Linked DNA regions of Homo sapiens: all the other regions are linked to region 1. The links are contacts of gene promoters, found by promoter capture Hi-C in blood cells and fetal thymus (Javierre and others, 2016). All regions are on one chromosome and are shown on one strand. The core of a region is centred on a gene start or on the middle of the fragment in contact, and the rest is flanking DNA. Distances in the headings are between cores, read along the strand shown. Region 1 holds the start of RPL26L1 (ribosomal protein L26 like 1). Region 2 overlaps LOC105377727 (a long non-coding RNA gene). Region 3 overlaps LOC105377731 (a long non-coding RNA gene). Region 4 overlaps NEURL1B (neuralized E3 ubiquitin protein ligase 1B). Region 5 has its middle 12 kb from the start of NKX2-5.

The links. The method cuts DNA at HindIII sites, captures the fragments that hold promoters and counts their contacts. A CHiCAGO score of 5 or more calls a contact.
Region 2: a contact is called between a fragment that was not itself captured here and the fragment with the promoter of RPL26L1 in region 1, in 1 of 17 cell types (M2 macrophages). The highest score is 5.0, in M2 macrophages.
Region 3: a contact is called between a fragment that was not itself captured here and the fragment with the promoter of RPL26L1 in region 1, in 1 of 17 cell types (endothelial precursors). The highest score is 5.1, in endothelial precursors.
Region 4: a contact is called between a fragment that was not itself captured here and the fragment with the promoter of RPL26L1 in region 1, in 1 of 17 cell types (fetal thymus). The highest score is 5.7, in fetal thymus.
Region 5: a contact is called between a fragment that was not itself captured here and the fragment with the promoter of RPL26L1 in region 1, in 1 of 17 cell types (endothelial precursors). The highest score is 6.2, in endothelial precursors.

Annotation. Positions count from the first base shown.
Region 1 is chr5:172,957,980-172,960,785 of GRCh38, forward strand. RPL26L1 (ribosomal protein L26 like 1) reads left to right here and starts at 1,445. Exons shown (of 4, transcript NM_016093.4): 1 at 1,445-1,489; 2 at 1,886-2,062. The coding sequence starts at 1,895. RPL26L1-AS1 (RPL26L1 antisense RNA 1) reads right to left here and starts at 1,389. Exons shown (of 4, transcript NR_026682.1): 1 at 1,311-1,389; 2 at 160-278. The HindIII fragment of the contact is 11,810 bases long and covers 1-2,806 here.
Region 2 is chr5:172,498,899-172,501,704 of GRCh38, forward strand. All of the region lies in intron 1 of LOC105377727 (a long non-coding RNA gene), which reads left to right. It also overlaps LOC107984004. Among named protein-coding and RNA genes, the nearest start is that of SH3PXD2B, 46 kb to the left of the region's middle. The HindIII fragment of the contact is 1,143 bases long and covers 836-1,978 here.
Region 3 is chr5:173,287,333-173,290,138 of GRCh38, forward strand. All of the region lies in intron 3 of LOC105377731 (a long non-coding RNA gene), which reads left to right. Among named protein-coding and RNA genes, the nearest start is that of MIR12118, 15 kb to the right of the region's middle. The HindIII fragment of the contact is 5,843 bases long and covers 1-2,806 here.
Region 4 is chr5:172,641,867-172,644,672 of GRCh38, forward strand. All of the region lies in intron 1 of NEURL1B (neuralized E3 ubiquitin protein ligase 1B), which reads left to right. Among named protein-coding and RNA genes, the nearest start is that of NEURL1B, 2.0 kb to the left of the region's middle. The HindIII fragment of the contact is 238 bases long and covers 1,354-1,591 here.
Region 5 is chr5:173,245,902-173,248,707 of GRCh38, forward strand. No RefSeq gene overlaps it. Among named protein-coding and RNA genes, the nearest start is that of NKX2-5, 12 kb to the left of the region's middle. The HindIII fragment of the contact is 3,226 bases long and covers 1-2,806 here.

The sequences.
Region 1 (2,806 bases), core at 195-2,694:
GTAGGCCAGGCGCAGTGGCTCACGCCTGTAATCCCAGTACTTTGGGAGGCCGAGGCGGGAGAATCACCTGAGGTCGGGAGTTCAAGACCAGCCTGACCAACATGGAGAAACCCCGTCTCTACTAAAAATACAAAATTAGCCGGGCGTGGTGGCGCATACCTGTAATCCCAGATACTGGGGAGGCTGAGGCAGGAGAATCGCTTGAACTTGGGAGGCGGAGGTTGCGGTGAGCCGAGATGGTGCCACTGCACTGCAGCCCAGGGAACAAGAGCGAAACTCTATCTCAAAAAAAAAAAAAAAAAAAATCTAGTATTAGTAAACGCAGGTGTTTAACAATGTCACCACTACATGTCAGGGAACACTGATAAACTAAGAGAGAGCACGGGACCTGCCTGGGTGTGGCTGCTGTACTTGCAAGACATCTTCCCTCTCTGAGTTTCAGCATGCCGGCATTTGGCACTAAGTTGTCGTTCAACATATATGGAATGAATGAACGAAAGGGAGAGTTGGAGTTAATAACACCTTGCATAGAATAAACCCCGTCGGTTCTTAACCCGAAGAGAGTCGAGACCCAGAGCCCTTTTCCTTCCCTGCCGCCACGGTGCCCACGGAGGGGGCGTGGTTGATCTCCCTCACAGCTCCGTCGGGACCAGAGACCCGGGGACCTTTTACACCCAGGGTCCGCGCAAAGTGTCGGCCTAGCCAGTGGTTGGGTGGCGCCCGGGCCTCCAGGCAGTCTTCCAGGGGTCGGCGAACGAAACGCGGAGCTCGGGAGCGACCCGGCGGGGCCAGGCACGGGCAGAAGGGCCAAGAGGGCCACAGGTGGGCGCGGAGCGGCCGGAGTGGGCGGGGACTGGATGAGAGGGGCGGGGTCTAGGAGAGAGGGGCGGGGCGGCGGCCACAAACCCGCAGGCACGCCGCCGGCCGCCGTTTAGTCCCAGAGATAGAAAAAAGTAGAGGTAGGAGGGCGCGGCGGCTCACGCCTGTAATCCCAGCACTTTGGAAGGCCGAGGCGGGCGGATCACGAGGTCAGGAAATCGAGACCATCCTGGCTAACAGGGTGAAACCCCGTCTCTACTAAAAATACAAAAAATTAGCCGGGCGTGGTGGGGGGCGCCTGTAGTCCCAGCTACTCGGGAGGCTGAGGCAGGAGAATGGCGTGAACCCGGGAGGCGGAGCTTGCAGTGAGCCGAGCTCGCGCCACTGCACTCCAGTCTGGGCGACAGAGCGAGACTCCGTCTCAAAAAAAAAAAAAAGAACACCAGTAAGCCTCTACCGCAGGCCCTACACAAGCAGGCCCTTGTACTCACTGGCATCGCCCTCCCGGGGCCGCCAGGAATGAGGCACTGAGATCCCACCCCAAGCCGCTGGGGGCGCCATTCGACTTCGCTCCTACGGAAATGGGGCTTCGATGTCTTTCTGCGCTTGCGCGGCACGGAAACTCACTTCCGGCCCTGCGCACTCAGGGTCTGAGGCAGCTAGTAGCCGGGTGAGTGGAGGCTGGAGTTTTCTCGGACAGTGAACTCTACCGCCCCGTGAGACCCTGCCCTATGTGTCGCGGGAACACATGTCACCCCACAGCTCTCTTTGAGTGACCTCCCGACCACCCATTCCTGCCTAACCCTAGCATTCCTTCCTCAGCCTCAAGGTCCCAGTGCTACCCTCTCCCCCACGACCCCTTTAGACGGGCATGCGACCTCCACACACGCCTCACTTTATGTGATAGTCAGACTAGTCGCATCTCTCTGTCCTCCCTCAGTTGCCTTTTCAGAGGCTACCTCCCCTGTAGAGCCTTTGTTGGGGGATGAGGAGTGTCTTGGGTCGAGAACAGGCCCCTGTAACCCACTGAGCGCCCCTTCATTCCGTCTCTCTCCGCCCTTTGTAGAGGGTCACCATGAAGTTCAATCCCTTCGTTACCTCGGACCGCAGTAAAAACCGCAAACGTCACTTCAATGCCCCCTCACACGTGCGCAGGAAGATCATGTCATCCCCGCTCTCCAAGGAGCTGCGGCAGAAGTACAATGTCCGCTCCATGCCCATCCGCAAGGACGACGAGGTCCAGGTACGTCTCCCTCCGGCGCTAGTGGCGCTCGGACACCGTTGCCTAAGAACGTCATGCGTGGAGCAGTCACAGACTCACATGCCTCAGGACTCTGGAAAGTAGTGTGACCCTTCAGATGTGTTAGGCCAGAGATAGGGTTCAGAGCCACCAGAGAGTGCCTGCGTTGCTTTAGAGCATTTAATTATTTAATAGTAATAGTAAAATTTAATAAAACAGTATGTCAACCAAGCAAAAACCTGCTTTTTTGTTTGTTTTGTAGAGATAGGGTCTTGCTATGTTGCCCAGGCTGGTCTCTGAACTCCTGGCCTCAAGTGATCCTCCCACCTCAGCCTCCCAAAGCACTGGGATTACAAGTGTGAGCCACCGTGCCCCACCAAAAATACTTTTGATTTAACCTTCTGGCTGCTAGTTTGCCAAGTGTTGTTGCCCAGGGTGGCTTGTTGAACCAGACTGTAGGGGAAGGTGCTGCAGTGAGAGTAGTGTTTTAGTGTATTTGGGTGTAGTGGGATTGATGGACAGAGATTTGTGGGAGCTGGCCATGTGATAGCATTGGATTTGGCAGGAGAACTGGTAAAGATGCAGCGAGTCACTCTTTCATAATTTCTAAAAGACTGGCCCATGTGAGAACGTACAAGCCCTCTGTTCTCTGTGATTGGAGCTTAGAATGCATGAGAGGAGGGAAGGGAGTTGGATATGAGTGAAATAAGCAGGGGCTAGATTCATTCCTCAAAGGAATATTTATGG
Region 2 (2,806 bases), core at 157-2,656, 460 kb before region 1:
AACAATATGGCAGCTAGCACTCAATTGCATTGACTGCATCTGTTTCCATGCTGTGCCCAACCCTCTTCTCACCACTTTCCTGTGGGGTATGACTGCTGTGATGGTTTTGTCACCTTGGTTAGTCTACTGCGCCCAGTGGTTTGGTCCACTGCTAGTCTAGATATTGCTGTGAAGCCAGGAGTTTGAGACTATAGTGAGCTATCATCATGCCACTGGACTCCAGGCTGGGTGACAGAGTGAGACCTGATTAGCATCTATAATCAGTTGACTTTAAGTAAAAAATATTACCCTTGATAATGTGAGTAGGCCTCACCTAGTCAGGTGAAGGCCTTAAGAGCAAACACCAAGGTTTCCCGAAGAAGGAACAATTTTCCCTCAACTGTAGTAAGGAAATCCTCTCTGAGTTTCCAGCCTGCTGGGCCACCCTACGGATTTTGGACTTACCAGCCCCCACAACCACATGAGCCAATTCCTTAAAATAAGTCTACATTTCTATCCATTACCTCCTATCAGCTCTATTTCTCTGGAAAACCCTGACGAATACAACAGTCATTCCCATTTTACAGATGGTGAAGCTGAGGCTCAGAGAAATTTGGTCTCATGGCCAGTGTCATATGCCACTCAGTGGCAGGGCCTGGACTGGAACCCAGGCAGCCTCTCTAGGACCAGCATTACAGATCACCTAGCTGATGCTGGGATCCAGGTCTTTTCAGCTTCTTCAGGTATTTCCAGGTGCCCAGAGCCAGCTTTCTTAGCCAGGGAAGCTGATGAGTGAAGCAGCCCCTTTTCAAAATGTACTCTTGTGTGCACTGTGTTTTCCAGAGAGACTTGGGGAAGCTTCTCTAGGTGTGAAAAGAAAAGAGGAGGGGAGGGCTGGGCGCCGTGGCTCATGCTTATAATTCCAGCACTTCAGGAGGCCAACGTAGGAGGATCTCTTGAGCCCAGAAGTTCAAGACCAGCCTGGGAGACAGCAAAACTTTGTCTCCACAAAAAAAGATTTTAAAAAAGTAGCTGGGTGTGGTGGCATATGCCTATTATAGTCCTGGCTACTGGGGAAACTGAGGCGGGAGGATCACTTGAAGCCAGGAGTTCAAGGTTATAGTGAGCTATGATCATGCCACTGCACTCCAGCCTGGGTGACAGAATGAGACCCTGTTTCTACAGAGACACAGAGAGAGAGAGAGACAGAGAGAGAGAGAGAGAGAGAGAGAAGGGCAGGACCTGGGGACCTGGGAGTAAGTCCTTCTTTTTACTTCCTGTCTGTGTGACCTTGAGCAAGTAGCTTTGCCTCTCTGAGCTTTGGTTCCTACAGCCTAAAATTACCTCCAGACAGTGGGGCAAAGTCAAGAGATTCTCTATGTATTGATATAGAAAGACCTTTAAGATAAAATGTAGAGGGAAAGTGCAAAGTGTAGGACAGTGTTTCCCTTTTGTATAAGTAAAGGGGGAACTTTTTTTTTTTGAGGCAGGGTCTTGCTCTGTTGCCCAGGCTGGAGTGCAGTGGCATGATCATAGGTCACTGTAGCCTCGACCTCTTGGGCTCAAGCAATCCTCTCACCTCAGACCCCTAAACAGTTGGGATTACAGGTGTGCACCACCATGCCTGGCTGATTTTTAAATTTTTTGTAGCAACAAGGTCTCACTGTGTCACCCAGGCTGGCCTCAAACTCCTGGGCTCAAGCGATCCTCCTGCCTCTGCCTCCCAAAGTGCTGGGATTATAGATGTCAGCAACCACGCCCAGCCAGAAAAGGGGGATTTAAGAATATGTTCTGGTATTTACATAAACAGACTCTCGGGGAATACACTAGAAACTAATAAAAATGATTCTTTAAACGAGGAGAATAGGAGCAGGATGAGACTTCTCACTGTGTTCCTTTAATTTTTGAAACGTTATTAAATTATGTAGTAGAAAATAAATATTAATAGTTTTAAAAATGATGATAATGAGAGTACCTCCTTCAAATTGTTGTATAGTTAAGCTTAAATGTAAAAATAAATGTAAAATGCAAAGCACATAGTAGGTGCTTAAAAATGGGAGCTGGTCATCTTGCCACAGTGACCCTCCAGGGTGTTTCTCGAGGAAAGGGCAAGATGATCATAATGATGCTTTGATTTCCCGCTTGAACCCAATACATGCTTTCTGCTGAGCTGGGTCCTCTGGGTGACTGAGGAAATAGTCCCCACAGGCCCTTGCTTTCAAGGCTTTAATGATCCACCTGGGGATCCCGGACTAACAGTCATGGGCTGTGCAGTGCTCACCATTCATTCATCAAAGATTTGAAAGGTAAGAAGGGTCGCTAATGGGCAAGGGGAGGGGCTTTTTCGGATGGGAACAAATATTCGTTGAGCTGTACTGGGTGTTCCTACATACACTCCTCCTGTAATCCTCATATCAACTCTGGGAGGAGCAGTGATTGTGTCCATTTCACAGAGAAGGAAACTGAGGCCCAGAAACTTGAGCTAGGGTGTGTAAGAACACACAGCTAGGAATTGGCAGAGTCAGGCTCTGAGGCCATGGCTGTCCAGTTGCAGGTCTCCTTGTCTTCCCACTACACTACAATGCCTGGCCAGGCTCTAGAAGGATCTGGCGGGTTAAGTGAAGCGTGGGTAGGTGGTGGGATGGGAGCGTGGTGCAGCAGCTGAGAGTGATCCCAGGATCCCCTCTGAGGACCATTTAAACTTGCCAACAACCCTACTAGACAAGCAGAAGACATAGTGCTATCTTCCCCATTCCCTCACGGATTAATTAATTAATTCATTCATTCATTCATTTCTCCATATAGCCAGTCATTAACATTTTAGTGA
Region 3 (2,806 bases), core at 154-2,653, 330 kb after region 1:
GAAGGAGGGAAGGGGCTGGGCAAAGCATAAAGGAGGTGGAGGGATGGTGAGTTCAGAGGGCAGGATTGGCCACCAAAATGAGTGAATAGTGCACTGAGGAAGTAGATTTCAGGTAAGGAGATGAGTTTAACAAATTCTGGATGAGGGCACCTGGAAGGCAACTTTGAGCATCTAGTTGATGCATCAGTGGGTGCAAAGGGGACGAGTTTTCTTTTCTCTCTTTCTTTTTTTTTTTTTTTTTTGAGACCGTCTCACTCACTCTGTTGCCCAGGCTGGAGAGCAGTGGTGTGATCTTGGCTCACTGCGACCTCCACCTCCCGGGTTCAAGCGATTCTCCTGCCTCAGCCTCTAAGTAGCTGGGATTACAGGCGTGCACACCACATCAGCTAATTTTTTATTTTCAGTAGAGACAAGGTTTCACCATGTTGGCCAGGCTGGTCTCGAACTCCTGACCTCAAGTGATCCACTGGCCTAGGTCTCCCAAAGTTCTGGCATTATAGGTGTGAGCCACTGCGCCCGGCCTGGGAATGGGTTTTCTTAAGGTCCTGGACCAAAAGGAAGATGTTAGGAGGCTCGCAGGGGATGAGGTCATGAGGTCTCCTCACACCTTGCTCAGGAAGCATTAATTGGTCTAGCCCCTCTGAGGGCAATTTGATAATATCAGTTCACACAAAACGCTCACTTCTCTGACTCAGTGTTTCCACCTCTAAGAATGAACATCCCCCAAAGTGCCCAAAGTTACAGGCACAGGGGTGCTCTCAGGGGCTCTGCCTGTGTTAGAAAAAAAAAAAATCGGAAGTAACGTCCACCTACAGGGGACTGGTTTAAAAACCAGTGAAACTCTGTGCCACCATTGAAACGAACACAGTCGCATATGTCAATTGCGTGGAGAAATGAGCAAGTCAAAAGGAGATGCAATGTGCACCTGACTCCAGTTTCATAAAAACATACTGCAAGTAATTCCTGTCTTTGTGCATGGAAATAATTACTTAGTTGATTGTGCATCAAATTATTTATGGGTACATAGGGGTTGTTCATTTTTAAATATTTTTAATATTTCTCTGATTTTAAAAGTTTGTGTCATGTACGGGCGTAAGTGGCTGGCCTGCGATGTCTACTGGTCAAAGCGGGCAGTCTCCCTCTTGGGAGGAAGCGTGGTGGCGAGGTCACCAGGGATGCGGGGTGCACAGGCTCCAGGCTGTGTGGGTGCAAAGGCGGGAGGTGGGGGAAGTAGCTGTGAGGTAGACCCTGGCTGCGTGGGGTGGGGTTGGGGCCACTTCCTTTCTACCTCTCCTGGCAGACCACAGGCTGAGGCTACCTGGGCGAGGTGGCCCCAACACATCTGCAAGGAGCTCTATAGCCCACCAAACTGTTCCTCCTGCGTCCTTTTCATCCAGGCCCCGAGCAATCCTGTGACACAGAAATTATTGTCATCTCTACTTTACAAATGAGAGAATGAGGGCCCAGACCAGGTGAGTGACTTGTCCAAAGTCACACAGCTCTTGTAGAGCCCAACTTTGAGCCCAGGTCCTTGGCTCATCCTCTGTCTCACTCTCTCTGCTTGGAAAGATGCCTGGAGAGTAAGGAGCTGAACTTTGACTCTGATGGGAACCCAGTGAGGCCAGAGGTCAGGCCAGTGATCCAGGAGCATCCTTCCATATCAGAGTTGCAAAGTGGCGGCCCACACAAGGTGCTTTGTTTGATCTGCTTGGTGTTTTTAAGAGCTTTGAGTGAGTTGGCAACATTTATTTTATTTTATTAAAAAAAATAGGAGGTCTCACTATGTTGCCCAGACTGGTCTCGAACTTCTGGGCTTAAGCAATCCTCCTGCCTCTGCCTCCCAAAGTGTTAAGATTACAGGTGTGAGCCACCTCACCCGGCCACCAACATTTAAAAATCAGATTTCATGCTAAATCCAGATGTCCAGCTTTTCTTAAAAATATTGGAGTCCTCATTCCTGTTAAGGCAACCAGCCGGCTACAGCAGCTGCTTCCTTTAGTCTGAGTGTGCTGTGTCCAGGGCACCGCAGTCCCCACCACGCCCTCTTGTTTCCCACCCCTGATCTGCGTCACCATCAAGCGAAGTAAGAGCTGTAGAGATGATAGGTAGGAGCATGGATTGTGGAGCCAGAAGGCCTGGATTTGAATTTTACCAACTGGCTGTGTGACCTTGGACAAGTTAGTTCACTGCCTTGGTTTACAAACCTGTGAAATGGGGACATTCATTTAATTTCGACTAATTAAACCAGTTTTTAACATTGAAAAATCAGGAGATCTCATAGAATGCCTTGAAAAATCAGAAAACCTGGTAATACAGGTCTCAGGGCTGATAGCACATATCTCATAGGGTTGTTTTAAGAGTCTTAAATGAATTTTCCTCCCTCCCCCCTTCCCTCCCTTCCTCCTTCCCTCTCTCCCTCCCTCCCACCCTCCCTATCTTACTTTCTCCTTCCCTTCCTTCCTTCCTTCCTTCCTTCCTTCCTTCCTTCCTTCCTTCCTTCCTTCCTTCCTTCCTTCCTTTCATCCCTTCCTTCCTTGACAGGTCTTGCTCTGTCACCAACGCTGGGGTGCAGTGGTTGGATCACTGTAGCTTCAACTTCCCCAGGCTCACTGTAGCCTCAACTGCCCAGGCTCAAACAATCCTCCTGCCTCAGTCTCCCAACTAGCTGGGACCACAGATGTTCACCACCACTCCTGGCTAATCTTAAAATTATTTGTAGAGACAGGGTCTTGCCATATTTCCCAGGCTGGTCTTGAACTCCTGGGCTCAAGTGATCCTCCTGCTTCGGCCTCCCAAACTGCTGGGA
Region 4 (2,806 bases), core at 223-2,722, 320 kb before region 1:
TGCTCTCAGGGGCACCCCAGTTTCCAGCCTCCCAGCGCCCCCGCGGCACATGCTGCCGTGCTTTGGCCACGTTCCCACGCGCACCCCGGTTGCGCCCCCCTCTGGTGTCCGCTCCACTGGGGACTCCTTCGCCCCCTCGGAGTCGCTGCTGCAGATCGCATCGCCCCCTAGTTAAAATCGCCCCAGAATTTCTGGGACCGGAGTGAGGGGATCCGGAGCAGGTTAACGGGGTAGGAGGAGGCCTTACTGGAAAATACATGGTAATTGTGGGAACAGATCAGCGGTCCCGCGCCCGCGCGTGCCCGTGGAGGTTCAGTGCCCAGCACTTTGCATACCCCAGCTCGGTATGCAAAGAAGCTTCGCGATAAAGATGTGTATCCCAGTTTTACAAATAAAAAAATTGAGTGTCAGAAGAGGTGAAATGACTCACCCAAGGTCACACAGCTAGTAGTGGGAGAATCTGGAGTGGGACCTGTGTCTCTCTGCCCTCCCTCCCCTCACACGCCCAAGTATTTAGAAGTATTTTGTCTTAAGGCTGGGCCTTTGTAGCATCCTTTGGGCAAAAGGTGAGAGGAGTGTGTGTGTGTCTAAAGCACAAAGGCTCGGCTCAATGGGGAAGCAAGTCAGCTGTGAGGTTAATTTAGTGTGAGGTTCTGGAAGAGGGACATATCACCCCATCTCTGCTATAACACTCCCATATAGCTCTCCCTTCTAGGCATTACATGCTCTTAAAGAATAATTTCCCCTGGAGCGGGTTGAAGTGGACAGTGCTGAGCCCAGGATTCCCAGGGTCAGCTTATGGAAGAGGAGCCAACTCCTACTTTACAAGCCTCTGAGCAACTGCACTCAAACGTTCAAATTCCCAGAGAGCTGTAATCATCAGCAGAGTCACCAGCTAGTCAGTGGCAGAGGTGGGATTAGAACCCAGGTCTGCTTACTGGAGGGTGGCCTCTACCTCCTGTGGACAGGGCTATTGCCAGGTTGGGGGAGAACCCACCCGCGGGTCAGGAGATATCTGGGGATGTTGGCAAATAGGGCAGCAGATATTCTCGCCACATAGACACTGGGATGAGGCACCTCGGCACAGGCCCCTTTCCTTGGTTTCTTAATTTAAAAATGTTTATACTATTCTAGTAAAAAGCCATTCTGCCACCTGTGGGTCAGCCCTGGGGTGCGTAAAGGGACAGACACACGCCAGGCAGGCTAAATATAGCTAGAGATTTATGTATTCTCCATCCCTCTCAACTCTCTCTCTGTGGACTGGGCCACCCTAGTCTGGGAGCCGGCAGTTAAGGTTGGTTACCCACTGCAGTGTCTAAGTATGGGGAATTCAGACTCTTCTCTGGGGATTGAAGCTTGCACTGAGTTTGAGGAAGGGGTCAGAACCGGAATTCCTGAGTCACATCGGGTGGCAGATGCCAAGAATATGAAGGGCCGTTAATTGTTTTCCGACCTACCAGTATGAGTTTCTTGCACACCCTGTGCTGTTTTTTGTACCTCTGTGCTTGGCATGTGATGGTCCCCATGCATGGATTGTCCTTTCTTGTCTAGTCTGCCTTTCAAAATCCAGTTGTCGTTACCTCCTCCAGGAAGCTTTCCCTGACCACCCACAGTCTCATCCTTTGCTCTGCTATCTGGATGCCTGAAGTCCTTTCCTGCTCATCGTTGCAATGACTGCATTGTCACTGCCTGTCTCTGTGACTCTTTGCGGTTCCCTGAGGACAGAGCCCTTGTCTTGATCATCTTGTATCCCTGGTTGCCCATCCCAGAGACTGGTGCCTGGCAAGGGCTCAAAAACTGGTGGTGGAGCTCGAATGTTGCCTGAATCTTAGGCTGAAGGAACACTTGGCACAGTCTTGCCCTGTAGAATCCTTGTGCTTTCGTTCTCAGGAAAAGGACACATGCGTGGGGTTCTTTCTGCGGGACTTGAAATAGAGAGCTGGCATTTGCTGAGCACCTGGATTCCATGCCAGGCTTCCTGCATATGTGGCTTCATTTACACGCCAAGCATGCTTCTCCTCAAGGCTTCTGCACTTCCTGATCCCTCTCCCCGGCACATTCTTCTGCCCTCCTCCCCATGGCTCCCACCAGGCTTCCTTGGGGTCTCTGCTTGAACGAGGGGCCTGCTGTTGCCCCAACCCCACTCACTCCTTTGACCCAGCTTTAAGTTTCTCCTTAGCACGTGTCACTATGCGACACGCTGTATGTGTAGTTAGCAGTTTCTTGTCTGTCTCCCCCAGGGAGATTTTGTCTGTTTTATTCACTGCTATACGTTTAGCACCTGGAGCAGTGGCTAGTACAGAGTAAATGTTCAGTAAGTACGTGTTGGATGGGATGAATGGATGAATTTAATTCTTCTAACATCCCTGCAATGTAGGCATTATCATCTCCATATTACAGTTGAGAAGCCGAGGCTCAGAGAGGTAAAGTGGCTTGTCCCAGCTCACACAGTTCACCTAGTTGGCAGAACTGGGATTGCAATTTAGGTTAACTTAGCTCCAAAGTCCTGCATTCTTATTCTGACATGCTGTGGCCTCCCAGCCCGTGATTTAGATAACATTTATTGGGTTCCCCACCATGCACGTGGCATGCTACACTATACAATAAGGAAATGCCAAAGAAAGGGAAGGTTGTTTATGATCGATTGCGGAAGCCTCTTGGCAGCTCTTGCAAAGTGCATCAGCATATTCAGAGAAATGCCCTTTAAACAGAACGTGCAGCACAGGACCTCACATCTACTAAGCTCCTACTGTGTGCTCTACACTCTCTTTCCAGTTGCAACTCAACCCTGCAAAGTAAGGTGCCA
Region 5 (2,806 bases), core at 80-2,579, 290 kb after region 1:
ATGAGGGTGCGGGGGGCCTAGAACCCGAGGCTGGTAGGAGAGCAAACTCTCAAACGCGCTGAAACCGGCCCATCTGGGAGAAATATTAGGGCGCATGTCTCTCCCGGAGGGCTTCCTTTTTTTTTTTTTTCCTAACCACGAAAATAGGGAATCTTTGTTACAGGCTAGTTGTGAGCGAATCCTCCTTTGTCCGCGTCCGGAGGAAAATCAGGTTTATTCTTCAGAGAGGGCAGCTTGGACTTTAGGAAGTGCCTGCCGGGTCCAAGTTTACCTTCCGGACTGCGACGAGGTGAGGTTTCGCCACCGTCCTAGCCTCTGTCCTCTCCCCAACCTGCAGCAAGTCAGCTCTGACTCCGGCGGGGCCGGAGTGCAGGGCAGAGGGGAAAGAAGGTGCCGCCAAGGCTGGTCCTTCAGTCACAGCAAAGGCCCTGTGGCCAGCCTAGGCGACCCCTTCCTGTGGCTAACCCTCCGCGATCTGCAGGCAGAAGTGTTTCTAGGTGCCCCACCAGCCGCTAGGCCCTGGGCCCCTTCAGACGTCCAAGCGCTGTTATGCAAATCTCCTCATTTTTCATTTTCTGTATTCAAAGTCGGCTGTATCCAGTTTTTTAAAAATAAAAATAAACCAAATAACAATAACAAAGCACTCTCAGTCTCCTCCTGCCTTCCATGCACAAACCCATCAATGACCTCTATAAACATGGGAGTCAGCCTCTCGGTGTTTCCAGCCTCACAATTACCCACGGGGATCCCCTCTCTTGAGAAGCTGTAGGGAAAGATACCTCTTGGCTTCAACACAGACTTGCTCCCTTCCGACTTGCCCGGGATCACTCTGGATTACTCCAACTGCTGACGGAGGACCACCCACCAAAACACAGCCTGGCCTTGGGAAAGCGTGGGTTCTCATTTATCAGGGTTTATTTATCCAAAATAAAAATTACTGTAGAAAAGTAAAGGAGGGAAAAACATCTTCCTCCCTTAGGAGGCTTTTTTGAATGAATCTTCTTCTCATTCTTTAAGGCCTTGGTTTAGGCCTTCCTATTCCCTGTGGTCCTTTGACATTATCTCAGCCTTAGTTAAAAAAAAAAAAAAATAGTGAATTTGATTATTATCAGTAACCAAAGGTTGCTGGTGGAGGAAGGGAGACTAGCTGTGTTTTCTTGCATGATGGTTCATTTGCACCGTGTGCTATGCTGGAACCAGAAGAACATGAACTGGACATCACCCTCCCATTCCTGGCCCAATGCTTGAATGCCCTTGTCTCCTGGCCTCTTTGGTTACTCTGGTGACCTAGTTACTCAGTCCTGGGTAGCCCTGGAGATGACTCTCCTGGAGGGGGAGGGCTGCCTCTCCCACTCCTCCAGGCCAGGGGCCCTCAAGCAGGGCTACTCTGAATGAACACTTTTGTTAGAAGGAGCCCTGGGAGATTCGTTTCTTTTCTTCTAACAAGATGTGTGGGTGGGAGATGAGGAAGTCCGGGCATTTATAATTCAGAGTGGTGAGACAGCCAAGGGGGGTGTAGGTGAGGACCCCAGTGCATCGCCCTCTCCCTAGATGTGACAGTCATCGCCTAGGGACCCAGGCTCTTTTCCTAACAGAAGCTGTACTGCCCGTTCATTAGAAGTGGGAGAGGGGAGGTGGGACCAGGTGGCACTGGGAAAACTCTCAGCCACTCCCGAATCCTGCCTTGCATCCTGCCTGCCAAACCATTCCTGGATCCTGACTCTGGGAGATGCTACTTAGGGCAAGAAAGCTGGCTTTGCTTGTGCCTGTGACAAATTATGGGATCCCCTAAGTTCCCAGCCAAGTCCAGCAGTGTACTTGCTTCCACTTGCTGAACACTTTCTGATTTTGGGGGAACTTTTAACTCCAGTGTAACACAGGACTGCACAAAATAACAGCTGCCTCACTAGCATGCAGTTCAGGAAGCAGAACATTACCAGTAGCTACTAAGCCCTCTTGAGTTCTGTTTCCCGGCAGGGCAGTAACTATTCTGACTTCTAACAACAGAATAGTTTTGCCTGTTTTCAGACTTCACATGTATCTAAATACAGTATATACACTCTTTGTGTCTGATAATTTTACTTAGTATATGTTTGTGAGGTTCAATCACATTGTTTGTAGTTGTAGCTAGCTACTTTTCATTGCTGTCGAAACATTTCATTATGTGAAGATGCTACTGTTTATCGCCATTCTCTGCTGATGGACATTTGGGTAGTTTCCAGTTTTTGACTGTTAGGAATAGTGAGTGCCTCTATGAATTGTCTTGCGTGTGTCTTTTGGTGAACATGTTTACACATTTCTGTTGGGTAAATTTCTAGGAGTAGAATTGCTGGATCATATGATATTCACAAATCCAGCTAGAGTACATTCTACTCAGCGTTTTCCAACCTGGTTGTACAGATTTACCCTCATACTGGCAGTGTACAAAAATGGCAGTTTCTCCGCATCCTTGCAAACATTCGGTATTACATGTTTTAGATTTTAAGCCGTTCTGGTGGGGGCGTGGGGGTGTCTCATTGTGGTTTTATTTCACCTTTCCCTAATAACTAGTGAATTGAGGATCTTTTCAAATGTTTATTGATTTTTTGAATATACTTTTTTTGTGAAGTGCCTGTTTAAATCTTTTGCCTTTTTCTTATTGATTAGTGAGAGTTCTTTGCATATTCAGATAGGAGTCCCCTGTGGGTTATATGCTTATTGTGAATAATGTCACCCTGTCTGTGGTTTGCATTTTTACTCTCTTAATGATATAGCACCTATTTTTGGCTCTGGTCTAGTGACATACTTCTGACCTTGAGGTTGTAGC